2 separate regions of the Homo sapiens genome follow, and region 2 is linked to region 1. The links are contacts of gene promoters, found by promoter capture Hi-C in human tissues and cell types (Jung and others, 2019). All regions are on one chromosome and are shown on one strand. The core of a region is centred on a gene start or on the middle of the fragment in contact, and the rest is flanking DNA. Distances in the headings are between cores, read along the strand shown. Region 1 holds the start of TRIM72 (tripartite motif containing 72). Region 2 overlaps AHSP (alpha hemoglobin stabilizing protein).

Region 1 (7,238 bases), core at 2,725-5,224:
GTACATGAAGGATATATGAAAGAAGAAAGGCAACCTACCCCTACTCCTGGGCTTCCTCTCTTACTTAAAAGCAGAACATCAGCCTCAGTCAGCCTGTCAGCCTGACCACCAAGTCAGCCTGCCTGTACACACATGGGCTTGGAGTAGGGGGCAGGAAATTTAATTAAAATGTCCCCTGCTGGCCGGGCGTGGTGGCTCACACCTGTAATCCCAGCACTTTGGGAGGCCAGGGCGGGTGGATCACGAGGTCAGGAGTTCAAGGCCAGCCAGACCAAGATAGTGAAACCCCATTTCTACTAAAAATACAAAAATTACCTGGGCGCTGTGGCAAGTGCCTGTAATCCCAGCTACTCGGGAGGCTGAGGCAGGAGAATCACTTGAACCAGGGAGGCGGAGGTTGCAGTGAGCCAAGAATGTGCCACTGCACTCTAGCCTGGGCGACAGAGCAAGACTGCATTTCAAAAAAAAAAAAAAAAATGTCCCCTGCACAGACCAACCATTCTGTGGTCTAGATCTTACCCAAGACCTCAAATGCAAATATGCAAATATAGGAGAGCTCCCAATACTCCTGCCAAAGCCATTTTTTTTTTTTTTTTTTTTTTTTTTGGAGACAGGATTGCCTAGGCTGGAGTGCAGTGGCAGAATCACAACTCGAACTCCTAGGCTCAAGCAATCCTTTTGCTTCAGCCTCCCGAGTAGCTGGCACTACAAGCATGAGCAACCATGCCAGGCTACAAAGCCACTTCTTTGCTGGGAGGTGCCTGACCATGGAATCAGTTCCATTCCTGCCTCAATGACTTGCAACCTGTTTCCTCCTCTGCAGATTGGGAACAGCAATCCCCACCTCAACAATTTGGCGCCCCCACTCTCCCAGGGGAAACTGGGGGACCCTCTAGGCGGTGTTTGCAGAGTCCCCTCCCAGCAGGAGCCACAGGGTTGAATAGGAGCTGCCAGATCAGTCTCCTTCCCGGGACATCCCCGGGGGCGGCAGCTCCACCTGCTGCAGGAAAGGTAGGACCTGATGGCTCCAGGCCCTCGGAGGCTCAGAGGCGCAGGGCTGAGCCATGGGAACGAAGCGCGAGGCCATCCTGAAGGTGCTGGAGAACCTGACACCGGAGGAGCTCAAGAAGTTCAAGATGAAGCTGGGGACGGTGCCGCTGCGCGAGGGCTTTGAGCGCATCCCGCGGGGCGCGCTCGGGCAGCTAGATATCGTGGACCTCACCGACAAGCTGGTCGCCTCCTACTACGAGGACTACGCAGCCGAGCTCGTCGTGGCCGTGCTGCGCGACATGCGCATGTTGGAGGAGGCCGCACGGCTGCAGCGGGCTGCGTGAGGGCCACTCTGAGCTGGTACGTGATCTCGGGACCCAACCCCGCTTCCTCGCCAAGGACCCACGCGTCAGGTCCCGCCCAGAGCCTTCCTGTTCCCCTCCTTCAGGGTCCCTCCTGGGGTCCTCCCTCAGACCTCCGGCCAGCCCCTCCCGGGGGCGAAGGGCTGGGCTGCCGCGAACCCTGGTGGGCTGCATCTCGCCCCACTGCCCCCTTCCAGGCTCCTGGGCTGCCTGGGCCCTGTTCCGTTTCATGGGTTCTGTGCTTTCTTCGCAGATAAAGACGGGCAAGGTTGGGCGAGGTTGGGTTTTTTTTGTTTGTTTGTTTTTTGTTTTTTTTTTAGCGGCAGCAAGATTTATTGCAAAGAGCAAAAGAACAAAGCTTCCACAGCATGGAAGGGGATCCGAGCGGGTTGCCCTGAGGTTGGGGTCTTAAGCACAGGTGTGCTGGGATGGGAGGGGTCCCGGGAGGAGGCTCCTGCCCTGAGCTAGGAGACCACCAGCTAGGACTGGGCTGAACTGGGCCAGGCAGGACTGAGAGGCTGGGTCCCTGGGAAGTCTGGGGGCCTCGAATACCAACGAAAGGACGGTGGTCTACCCCTTCTAGGAGGCGGGTCAAGGCAAAAGGAGTAATGCAACGCCTGTGAAGCCAGCCCCACGCGCGCACCAGTCGCGTAAGACAACAGCAGTGTCTCCACCTCGGGGACCAAGGACGCCTCCGTGCCTCCAGACCCCGCCTCCTCCAGCCCCTGCACCTGTCATTTATTCTTCCACTGCCCAATAAATATTCATGGCAGACTTTACTGGGGCTGCGCGCACACGTGCCCGCCGGTAGCTATACGTGTGTGCTTTTGCCACACGGATGACACGCACCAGCCAGTGTGCGTTCGTCTCTATTTGCCTCTGTCTGGGTGTCTCTGCTGGGTACTTCGGGACGCGCACAACTGCGTGTGGGCTCCCAAGGCTTTCGGGACTTCCAGCTCCACCCAGAAAAACATCCTGGACGGGGCTCTCGGTGCCACCCTGGGCCCGCACACATAAGTGCAGATCCCGGCTGCCTAGCCCTTACAGTCTCCCTTCTGGTGAGGCCCCGCCTGGGGACCGTCAGGCCAGCCCAAGTTCCGCAGCTTCAGGGGTGCGTGGGCCTCCGCTGAGCACAAGGGGACAACCCTGCCCCGGCCGCCTGGCTCGGTCCCGAACGCCGCGCCTCCAGTCCAAAGTGGGCCAGCGCCGAGCAGGGAGCCAGCCCGAACGGCCCACCGGGTGCAGGAATGCGAGCGTGGGCCGCAGGGGCTGGTCAGTCCCTGCTCCGCCTGGCTCCGCCCGGCCCATCAGACCCGCCCTGGGGCTCCGCCCGCCCATCTCCAGTTTCCTCTAGGGACTAAGGCCGGGAAACCTACGTTTGCTCAGCGCCCTTATCGCCAGGCTCCATCCCTGCGCGGCTTTCCTCTGCCAGCCCCGCCTTAAGCTCCTCAGACCCTCTTTCCTGGCTGCTTCGCCCCGCCCCCGCCCCCCGCAACTCCAGGAGCTCGTGAGCCTCTCTAGAGACTCAGAATCCAAATCACTGCAGCGACCTCCCCATCGGCCCCGTGCCACCGAACAGCCCCTCCGACCACGATGCGCGCGGATCCCGCACCTTGAGGCGTGCGTGGGCCTCGGCGGCAGGCAGGAGGCGATGACCGCGGTGCGAGCCGAGTGAGGCGCACACTCCGCACACCAGCGCGCGGTCCTGCTCGCAGTAGATGCTCAGCGGGTCCAGGTGCTCCTCGCAGTGGCCCTGCGGCACCTGGGCCAGCCCCTCCACCAGGCGCGCCAGCTGCAGGTTGGTGCTGAGTGCCTGCGGCCGCGTGGGGGCCTGGCAGCAGGGGCAGAGAACGGTGCCATCCGCCGCCGGCTCCCCGGCCACGCGGCCTAGGCAGGCGCGGCAGAAACTGTGGCCGCACTCGGCTGTCACGGGCGCGTCGAACAGCTGCAGGCACAGCGGGCAGGACAGCTCCTGGTGCAGGAGGCCGGGCGCAGCCGACATGGCGGGCCTGGGTGGAGGAGGAGTAGGTTAGGGGGACCCCGCGGCGCCGCGCTCCCGGCCCAGCCCTGGCCCAGCCCTAGCCCAGGCCGGGCCCGCCGCCCCGCAGGGAGAAGCCCCAGCCTGTAAAGACCTCACATCCTACACTGGATGGGACTCTGACGGCCAAGGGGAAAGAGGAACTCGGTCTCAGGCCCAAAAGCAGCCTCCACTGCAATTCTCAGCTCCAACCCCAAAAATATGCCCTATCAGTCAACCCCAGTTCCTGAACACAAGCCCAGATTCTAGCCCACTGTCCTTGCCCTCGCCTTAGCCCCAGGCCTCAGCCTCTGACCTTAGTCCCGGACCCAAATTCTCCAGAGCCCCCACTCCGAGACTCCCCTCCCTCACTTTACCAAGATACCCAGACCTCCCCTCCCCCTCTCTCCAGCCCACGGGACTCACAGGTCTGGTTGGAGATCTTAGGCTGAAAGAGTCTCGAAGGAGGACCGGTCAGGGTTGAGCTTAGCTGGACTGGGGTCAGGGCTGGGTCCAAGGATCTGAGACAAGCAGCAGGCTCCAAGCAAGGACAGGGACTCACAGGGGCAGCTGGCAGTGGACACCACGCGTGATGGGCACACAGTGCTCAGCGGAAGACCCTCCCAGACTGAGCCATGGCCCCAGGACTATATTTAGCTGCCCTGCCCAATCCCTCCCATCACTTCCGGAAACCGTTCTAAAAGTGAGGGCTGAGTAGTCCCTGGGCACACATCACATGACAGGGCCACCTGTCTTGGCCCATCCACTGTTCTCTCCCCGGCCTGCCTGGAGTCAGAGCTCAGAGCCAGCGGGGAGCCAGGGCCTTTCACACCACAGAAAAGACAGAAAATTGAAGGGGGTCTGCCCTTTCTCCCCCCACTCCCACCTCCACACTCTCCAGCTCCTTCCTCCTTGCTGGCAGCCCCTCCCCAGCCTGTCACCCACTCATTCCCCAAGTTTATGGCTGACCAAGGTCACCCTGGCAGGATTACCCCACCTGCAGGAGGGCAGGACCTCACCCCACCCTGAAATGTTTTCTTCCTCCAGAGCTGAGGGGAGGGTCTTTTCCACTTTGGTCTCTCTAGTACACCCAGGACAAGCCTGGGACAAAGTAGGCCTCTCTAAATGCTTGGAGAATGAATGATAGAGAGACATTGAACAAATGAATGAACTGAATCCAGAGCCTGCAGCCCAGAACTCAATTCTGCCCTGGTTCCTGTATGTGTATCTTTCAAATCTCAGCTGAAATTTCATTTAAGTGGCGCTGGGATAACTGGCTAGCCTTATGCAAGAGAATGAAACTGGACCCCTACCTTTCACCATATAAAAAAAATTAACTCAAGATGGGTTAAAGATTTAAATGTAAGACTTCAAACCATAAAAATCATAGAAGAAACCGCAGGAGAAATACTATTCTGGATATCAGCCTTGGTAAAGAATTCTTGACTAAGTCCTCAAAAGCAACAAAAACAAAAATTGTTAAGTGGGACCTCATTAAACTAAAGAGCTTCTGCACAGCAAAAGCAAAAGCAACTATCAACAGACAGACAACTGAAGAATGGAAGAAAGGCCAGGCGCGGTGGCTCACGCCTGTAATCCCAGCACTCTTGGGAGGCCAAGGCGGGTGGATCATGAGGTCAGGAGATCGAGACCACAGTGAAACCCCGTCTCTACTAAAAATACAAAAAATTAGCCGGGCGCAGTGGCGGGCACCTGTAATCCCAGCTACTCAGGAGGCTGAGGCAGGAGAATGGTGTGAACCCGGGAGACGGAGCTTGCAGTGAGCCGAGATCGCGCCACTGCACTCCAGCCTGGGGTACAGAGTGAGACTCCGTCTCAAAAAAAAAGAATGGAAGAAAATATTCACAAACTATGCATCCAACAAAGATCTACTATCCAGAATATATAAAGAAACTAAACATTTCAACAAGCAGAAAACAACCCCATTAAAAAGTTGGCAAGGGCCAGGCACAATGGCTCACACCTGTAATCCCAGCACTTTGGGGGGCCCAGGCGGGTGGATCACTTGAGGTCAGGAGTTTGAGACCAGCCTGGCCAACATGGTTAAACTTCGTCTCTATGAAACATACAAAACTCAGCCGGGTGTGGTGGCAGGTACCTGTAATCCCAGCTACTTGGGAGGCTGAGGCAGGAGAATCGCTTGAACCCGGGAGGCAGAGGTTGCAGTGAACCGAGATCGCACCACTGGACTCCAGCCTGGGTGACAAGAGCGAAACTCCAACTCAAAAAAAATAGCTGGGCATGGTGAAGAACACCTGTAGTCCCAGCTGCTCGGGAGGCTGAGATGGGAGGATTGCTTGAACCTGGGAAGCAGAGGTTGCAGTGAGCCAAGATCATGCCATTGCACTCCAGCATGGGCAACAAGAGCAAAACTCCGTCTCAAAAAAAACAATAAATATTAAAAAAAAGAAAAGAAAGAAATTTCATCTAGAATAAAAACCAAAGTGCTAACTGTGGCTTACAAAGCCCTATCTGCTATGACCCCATTAATCACTCTGACTCTTTTATCACCCCTTTCCCCATTGATCACTCGGCATCAGGGACTTTGCACTTACGGTCCCCTCTGCCTGGAACACTCTCCAACCCAGGTACTGCATGGCATCCTCTTTTTCCTCCCTCAGACTTTGCTCAATATTACCTTTCCAGCAAGACCTCTCCCAATTCCCTGATTTTAAATCTCCTAACTCCCCAACATCTCACTGCCTGGCTTTCCTTTTCTCCATAACATTTATCAGCATCTGACATGCAATGTATTCTACTTGTTTGCTGGTTTCTTGTCTGTCTCTTCCTACGGAATAGAAATTGTGTTTACTGCTTGTCTCCAGCTTAGACTAAAGTGTGTGACACACATTAGGCGCTCTACAGATACTAGGTGAATGAATAAACACGCAAACTCAGTCCCTCTCATTTGGCCTCTCCATCTTTCTCTTAGCTTCCCTCAAACCTTTTCCTGGTTTTACTCTTTCCTCTCTCAACTGCTGTCTCTCTCAGAATGAATTTTTGTTTCTGTTTCACTCTCTTAATCTCCCCTTTGGACTCTCCCTTTGCCTGTCTCTTAGGTTCTTAATTTTTTCTTTTTCTTTTTTTTTTTTTTTTTGAAATGGAGTCTTGCTCTGTCGCCCAGGCTGGAGTGCAGTGGTACAATCTCGGCTTACTGCAACCTCCACTTCCCAGGTTCAAGCGATTCTCCTGCCTCAGCCTCCCGAGTAGCTGGGATTATAGGCACGTGCCACCACGCCCAGCTAATTTTTGTATTTTTAGTAGAGACGGGGTTTCACCATGTTGTCCAGGCTGGTCTCGAACTCCTGACCTCAGGTGATCCACCCGCCTCGGCCTCCCAAAGTGCTGGGATTCCAGGCATGAGCCACCACACCCGACCGCTCATTCCTTCTTGCATGTTATGTGGTGACAGCATGAACTTCTGCTGGCCTGCTTAAGAAGGTAGCTACTTCAGGCTGCCTGACACCTTGTTTAACCTAGGCCCTCGTTCAGGCTGTAAACATTTGGTTCTTTTAGGAGGAAAAAAAGTTCTATTATTCTTTTGGATAAGAGCAATTACCTGTATAAATGACTGCAGATAAAATTCTGAAATTAAGATGTGAAAAGTCTCAGGAAGCTGGTGCTCTTTTTTTTTTCTTTTCCTTTTTTTTTTTTTGTTTTTTTGTTTTTTTGTTTTTTTGAGACGGAGTGTCGCTTTGTCGCCCAGGCTGGAATGCAGTGATGAGATCTCGGCTCACTGCAAGCTCCGCCCTCCTGGGTTCACGCCATTCTCCTGCCTCAGCCTCCCGAGTAGCTGGGACTACAGGCGCCTGCCACCACGCCTGGCTAATTTTTTGTATTTTTAGTAG
Region 2 (7,238 bases), core at 2,662-5,161, 320 kb before region 1:
CTGTGTGAGAAGTCACGTTACTTCTCATTGTTTGCCTCTTCAGTTTGTCTAACTAAAAAAAAAAAAAGAAAAAAAAAACAGGAAAATCACGAATTTCCCAATCCATTTCTTTCTTTTTTTCTTTTCTTTTCTTTTTTTTTTTTGTTTTGTTTTGTTTTGTTTTAAGATGCCCAAGCTGAAGTGCAGTGATGCTTGGTCACCCAGGCTGGAGTGTAGTGGTGCAATCTCAGCTCACGGCTCCAACCTCCGCCTCAGGGGTTCCAGTGATTCTCCTGCCTCAGTCTCCTGAGTAGCCGGGATTTAAAACACCCACCAATACACCCAGCTAATTTTTGTATTTTTAGTAGACACGGGGTTTCACCATGTTCGCCAGGCTGGTCTTGAACTCCTGACCTCAGGTGATCCCCCGCCTCGTTCTCTCAAAGTGCTGGGATAACAGGCAGAGCAACCACGCCCAGCTATTGATACATTTCTTAATACAAGCTCCTGGTTCTGCTGTTTTGATATATTAAATATCCAGCAATAAATTTCTAGGTTCATAAATCTACAAAAATAAAATTAAACCTATTGCTGAAGACAAATTTTGTATTGCAGTTTTATGAGCTTTGATTCCTTCTCCACTTGCAGGTAAATGCTATTTAGTGGCAGGAAGACATTTCGCTTCTGTAAAAGGTATTAGAAACAATATAGCAGTAATAGAATTTATAACTACAAAACTATGCGCTCTTAAGATTGAAAATGCAAGCACATCTCTCCCAAAACATTTGTAATGAATAATGTGTCAACAAAAAGTATACAGTCATTATAGTCAACTCAATTTATACACTAAAGTCTTTTTTTGTTTGTTTTTGGGGGTTTTTTTGAGACGGAGTTTTGCTCTTGTTGCCCAGCCTGGAGTGCAAAGACACAATCTCAGCTCACTGCAACCTCCACCTCCTGGGTTCAAGCGATTCTCCTGCCTCAGCCTCCCAAGTGGCTGGGATTACAGGTGCCTGCAACCAAGCCTGGCTAATTTTTGTTTTTGTTTTTTTTTTAATAGAGACAGGGTTTCACCATGTTAGCCAGGCTGGTCTTGAACTCCTGACCTCAGATGATCCACCTGCCTCAGCCTCCCAAAGTGCTGGGATTACAGGCATGAGCCACCGTGCCCAGCCTAATTTATACACTAAAGTCTTTTATATTTTAATTTTGGCCACTAACTCCATTATGTGACATTCCTGTTTGTTTTGTTTTGTTTATGGTATCAGTAAAAACTCTTAAGTTGTAAGAGGGAAGAAAGTGTAAAAAAAAAAATTCATGAAAAATGTAATTAATTCTCATGAGTGCACAAACTCTGGAGGCTACAATAGAAGTTTTATATGGAAAATCCAATCAATACAGTAATTTTCAAGGTTGGGAGAGGGGATGCTCATGGACAAATGGGCCTCTGACATCTACAGAATTTTTAATTTGGTTCATCTACCTTCAGAAAACCTTTCACAAAAACATGACATTTGCTATAGAAAGATCAAGTAGTTTATTCCCTCACACATACAAAAATAGGAAACTGAGGCTTACAGAAGCTAGATTACTTACCTTGAAAATATATATATACACATATATATATATTTTTTTTGAGCTGGAGTCTCGCTCCGTTTCCCAGGCTGGAATGCAGTGGCAGGATCACGGCTCACCGCAACCTCCGCCTCCCGGGTTCAAGCAATTCTCCTGCCTCAGCCTGCAGAGTAGCTGGGACTACAGGTGCGTGCCACCACACCCAGCTAATTTTTTTGTATTTTTACTAGAGACGGGGTTTTACTATGTTGGCCAGGATGGTCTCGATCTCCTGAACTGGTGATCCACCCGCCTCAGCCTCCCAAAGTGCTGAGATTACAGGTGTGAGCCACTGCGCCCAGCCAATTTTTGTATTTTTTGTAGAGACAGGGTTTCCCTGTGTTGCCCAGGCTGGTGTCTTAGAACTCCTGGACTCTTTAGCCCAGCATGGTGGTACGCACCTGCAGTCCCAGCTACTTGGGAGGCTGAGGCAGGAGAATCACTTGAGCCTGGGAGGCAGAGGCTGCAGTGAGCTGAGATTGCACGACTGCACCCCAGCCTGGGCAACAGAGCAAGACTCCATCTAAAAAAAAAAAAAATCCTGGGTTCAAGTGATCCTCCCACCTCAGCCTCCCATGTCACTGGGACCACAGGCACGCACCACCACACCTGGCTAATTTTTGTATTTTTTGTAGAGACAGGGTTTCTCTATGTTGCCCAGGCTGGTCTCTTAGGACTCTTGGACTCAAGTGATCCTCCCAACTTGGCCTCCCAGTGTACTGTAATTACAGGCATGAGCTACTGCATTATTAATATATAAATGCATCAAACAAATGTATCGGGGATTCCAGTGGATTCTAAGTGGACTTGGACATGTTGGGATGTGCCTGGAACACTAGTGGGCATGGGCCGCCCATCTGCATTTGCAGGAGAACTGAAAAATATCCAGAAGGCAAAACCCTTTAGGAGCTACAAGAAGCAGGCCCTAGAGGAGAGTAAGGCAAGTGAGGCATGCAGGACACAACATTTAAGGAGGCCTCACTCTCAGGAGCTGTCCCTGCACTTTCACGAGCCTGCGAGAGAGGGCTTCCTTAAATTTCCCACTGATTCCTCTTTTGTCTCACCAAGTCACAGCCCTGGTAAGAAGCCAGAAGTGGCTGGGCTTGGTGGCTTATGCCTGTAATCCCAACACTTTGGGAGGCTGAGGCAGGCGGATCACCTGAAGTCAGGAGTTTGAGACCAGCCTGGCCAACATGGTGAAACTCTTGTCTCTACTAAAAATACCAAAATTAGACAGGCATGGCGGTGGGTGCCTGTAATCCCAGCTACTTGGGATGCTGAGGCAGGAGAATCGCTTGAACCTGGGAGGCGGAGGCTGCAGTGAGCCGAGGTCGCACCACTGCACTCCAGCCTAGATGACAGAGCAAGACTCCGTCTCAAAAAAAAAAAAAAAAAAAAAAAAAAGAAGCCAGATGTGTCCAGCTTGTTCCAGTGGTCAGAATTGGGCACAGAGTTTTATCATAAGAACGTGTTGCAGCTACTAATAGGAGTAAAAAGAAAGAATTTACTACAATGATGTAGCAGACATTTGTAATGCAATGTGAATATTTTGTTGTACAGATGGGGGTGGGGTGTCTTGCTGTGTTGCCCAGGCTAGTCTCAAATGCCTGACCTCAAGTGATCCTCTCAACTCAGCCTCCCAAAGTGCCAGGACTACAGGTGTGAGCAAATTGCTGAGTCTTGATGAGGGTAAGGGTCATGTTCCAGGGTCAAAGTCCAGCTGAGAGTCATCGTGAGGATCAGAGTGGGGGTCAGTGTCAGAGTGAGGATAAGGAGTGTGAGGCAAACATTCAAAGCCTGGGTCAGGGCGAGGGTCAGAGTCAGTTTCAGGGTCAGAGTTCATCACAGAGTGAGAAAGACTTAGTGCCAGGGTCAGGCTGAGTGTGTAGTTCAGGCTCAGCATAAGTTTCAGATTCACAGCAGGTTCAAGGACATGGTGAAGGTATGGATAAGGGTCCTTATAGAGTCAGGGTGAGGTCAGGATCAAGGAGACCATAAGGGTCAAGTCAGGGTCAGTGGAAAGTAAGCAGCAGAGTCAGGGTCAGGTAAGGGTCAGATTTATGGTCATGATGAGGGTTATGGTGACATTAAGATTTCCAGGCCAGGGGAGGGTCAAGTTGAGTGCCACTGTAGGGTTAGCTTCAATGTTCGGTTGGGATTAAGGGTGATGCTAAAACTGAAGGCAAAAGTGAGGGTCCGGGTCAAGTACAGAATCAGGGTCAGGGTGAGAACGAGATAGAGTGTGTAAGTGACAGTCAGGATCAGGGTCTGGTGAGTGTCACAGTCAGATGCAAGGTGAGAGTGAGCACCAGGGTAAGGCTCAGGTGTGAAGGAGGGGGTGGTGTCAGAACGAGAGCAAGGTCAGAGTCAAGGTGAGAGTGTATGCTTCAGGGTCAAGAGTCATGGTTAAAGGCCAGGTGCAGTGGCTCACACCTGTAGTCCCAGTGCTTTGGGAGGCTAAGGTGGGAGGCTTGCTTGAGGCCAGGGGTTCAAGACCAGCATGGACAACATAGTGAGACCCCATCTCTACAAAAAATACAAAAAAAAATAGCCAGGCATAGTGGCATGCACCTGTGGTCCCAGCTACTCAGGAAGCTGAGGTAGGAGGATCGCTTGAGCTCTGGAGGTCAAAGTTGCTGTGAGCCATGCTGGCACCACTGCACTACAGCCTGGGTGACAGAGCAAGACCCTGCCTCTTTAAAAAAAAAAAAAGTCATAATTATGATCACTGTCTAGGTCAAGTTGAGGATCAAGGGTCAGGGTCATAGTGAGGGTCAGAGTCAACATCATGCTAAGGGAAGGGTCAGTGAAGGTCAATTTCAGGGTAAGGGTCAGGGTAGGATTCAGGTTGAGGGTCAGAGACAGGGTGAAAATTAGGATCAGGTAAAGTTTAGGGTCCAATTCAGCATCAGGATCAGTATAAGAATGAGAATGAGAGGCAATGTCAGTGTGAGAGTCAGGGTCATTGTGAGGGCAAGGTGTCCATTATGATCAGGGGCAAGATGAAGCTAGAGGTGAGGCTCAAGTTCAGGGTCAGCTCTAGGTCAGGTTCAATATGAGGGTGAGGATAAGGGCAGGGTTATGGCTATAATGTTTTACCATTTATTTACAATCTTATTTCTAGTATTAATTCAGATACTGCTAAGCAAAAGAAGGTTATTCTTACTAATTCTAATTTATTTTCCTTCAGGAACAGTAATGGATTTGGGGCACTCTCTGCTTTAGTTATTTTATTTTTATTATTATGAACCATCAGGTTCATATCACCGTCTCTGAAAAATCAAAATATCCCCAATTTTACTTCTTGTAGATTTATAACCAGTCACTTCGTTGATAGTAATATGAGAGCAGAAAGTGCAGGTAACAGATTTTTCTGTCTTAAAAATATTTTTTGCAGCTTCTCAATTGCACAAGCTTATGGAATGGTCGGAATGGAGTTTCAATGTTGAACTTCCCAGTGAGAATCTTTTCTACCTTACACCTGTAATTGGTCATTTTCCTTTGAGCACCTGAGAAGTGCTTAGCTCAGCAGCTCCCATAGCTGGATAGTTATAAAGGTATGGAAAATTCCTCTTCATGAATTGAGCCAAAGCGGCTTCTAACATTCTTTTCAGCTAAGCTGAAAGACAAATACAGTGGTCCCTCCGTATCTGTGGGTTCCGCATCTGTGGATTCAACCAACCAAGGATGGAAAATATTTGGGGAGAAAAATGGATGGTTGCCTCTGTACTGAACATGTACAGGCTTTTTTTCTTGTCGTTACTCCCTAAATAATACAGTGTAACAACTATTTGCACAGCATTGACGTTGTAGTCGGTATTGTAAGTAATCTAGCCATGATGTGAAGTCCACGAAGAGATGTGCGTGGGTTACATGCAAACATTTCGCCATTCTGCATAAGGCACCGGAGCGTTGTGCTGTGCGCTCTCCTAGCGTCCCCCACTCACTTTCCTCCACCCACACACACCAGGCCAGGTCTCTCTTGCAAAGGTGAGGCTGCCGACTACTGTCCCGCCTGAGCGGGCTCTGGTCCTCACTCACAGACTGAGATTTCCTGAGAGGTGCCGTGGAGAAGGCCCCAGACTCTGCCTGGACCACCGACCCCAACCCAGAGGAGCTCGCCGCCTGCTTCCCTGGGAGGCGCCACTCTCCCAAGCTGGATCTAGGGCCGACCACACCCCAGGGTTGGAAGCACCGCTGGGGACACTGAGCGGGTTCCCTTTCCACCCTGATCCAGGCTGCAGAGACCTACAAAACAACAGTCGGTTCACAAGTCCCAGAGGAAAGCTTGCTGGAGGTTGGAACGAGGAGCAATCCCTCTGGGCCCCAAACTTTTCCCGCGTTAGAGAGAACACCGAAAAGGTCCAGAACTGCGCCCTCCAGCTCCCCGCGCGCACCCTGAGCCGCGTCTGATTGCTGTGCGGCGCCTCCTAGCCGCGCCCCCGCCCCGCGCACCCCCGCCCCCGCTCAGCACCCCGGGAACCCCCTCCCCCCGCGCGCCCCCGCCCCGCGCACCCTCCCCCGGAGGGCCCTCCCCTCTGCGCGTGGAGGCTTTTCCTGGAGACTGCGCCGCGGGTCTAACACCTTCATTTCGTTTTTAAAAAGCTCTTGAGTCTGGCCCGTCCCTGGTTCCGCCCAGAGCCCTAAAATAGAGGCTTCGAGTCTGGAGGTCTGGGAGAAAGGGAGCTAGACCGGGAATTGATCTGAGAAGCTTGGGGTGGGGGGAAGGCGGATTCCTCTGCTTCCCAATCCTGGCATCTGCGCCCAGGGATGTTGGAGCCAAAGGGAAGTGGCTTCCCCTCCTGAAATATAAGGGGCGCGCTAAAGGGTTCCCAGGATCCCTTCCAACTCTAAATTCCTGCGATGCCTGGGGCTCCGGGGAGGTATTTTGCGGTAGTCAGAGTCCGAAGATCCTAGAATGTAGTTTGAGCTGGGGCTAAGGACAGGGGATTGAAAAGTCGAGGCGGTGGACCTGGCGCAGGATGAACAAGACTGGGAGACTTCCAACAGTTTCCTCCTCGACAAGCAGGTCACAGGACAATGTCTGGAGGACTTCTATCCCCCTTTCTTGTTTCTGCCACCCCCTCCCCTGCAGCTCTGCACTCTCTCTAGTCCCGCCTTCCTGGCCCTCGTTCAGCCTGTTTTAGTTTAGAATCGCTGCCCGGTGGTCACTCAAGGCTGCTAACCTCTGCTGTAAGGAATTAAGCTTCCAAGAGCATATCTAAGAAGGAGGGCGGAAGGAAAGGGACCGAGTGCCTCCACATGTCAGGACAGACCATGAAAGAGAAGCCAGGAAGTCCAACAAAACCAGCACTGGTCTTTATTGAGGTGTCAGGGTAGAGTGGCAGGAGCACAGCCTAAGGACATGAAGGTCAGAGTTTCTCAGAGAGGAGGGGCTGGGTCCCTGAGCTAGGAGGAGGGCGGTGGGTGACTCGGGAGCTCATGAGACTTCAGGAAGTCCCTGTACTTGGCCAGGAAAGGGTTGGCCAGAGTGTTCAGCTCTTGCCGAAGCTCCTGCAGAGCCTTGTCTCGCTCTTGGGGCTCCCCTGTCACCTGCTGCCTGTAATAGTTGATGTAGAAGTTCATCCAGTCCTCCACCACAGTCACCATGTCTTCTTCAGAGACGAGAGGATCATTGAAGACCT

What was found. The method cuts DNA at HindIII sites, captures the fragments that hold promoters and counts their contacts. A contact is called where the count stands out against the background at its distance.
Region 2: a contact is called between a fragment that was not itself captured here and the fragment with the promoter of TRIM72 in region 1, in 1 of the 25 tissues and cell types used here (dorsolateral prefrontal cortex).

Annotation. Positions count from the first base shown.
Region 1 is chr16:31,210,855-31,218,092 of GRCh38, reverse strand. TRIM72 (tripartite motif containing 72) reads right to left here and starts at 3,974. Exons shown (of 7, transcript NM_001008274.4): 1 at 3,796-3,974; 2 at 2,965-3,361. The coding sequence starts at 3,354. PYDC1 (pyrin domain containing 1) reads left to right here and starts at 958. Exons shown (of 2, transcript NM_152901.4): 1 at 958-1,350; 2 at 1,936-2,131. The coding sequence starts at 1,065. The coding sequence ends at 1,334. RefSeq lists enhancers at 823-1,737, 2,653-3,567, 3,568-4,483. The HindIII fragment of the contact is 10,428 bases long and covers 1-7,238 here.
Region 2 is chr16:31,528,456-31,535,693 of GRCh38, reverse strand. AHSP (alpha hemoglobin stabilizing protein) reads right to left here. Exons shown (of 3, transcript NM_016633.4): 3 at 6,891-7,236. The coding sequence ends at 7,003. Among named protein-coding and RNA genes, the nearest start is that of AHSP, 4.2 kb to the right of the region's middle. The HindIII fragment of the contact is 6,447 bases long and covers 688-7,134 here.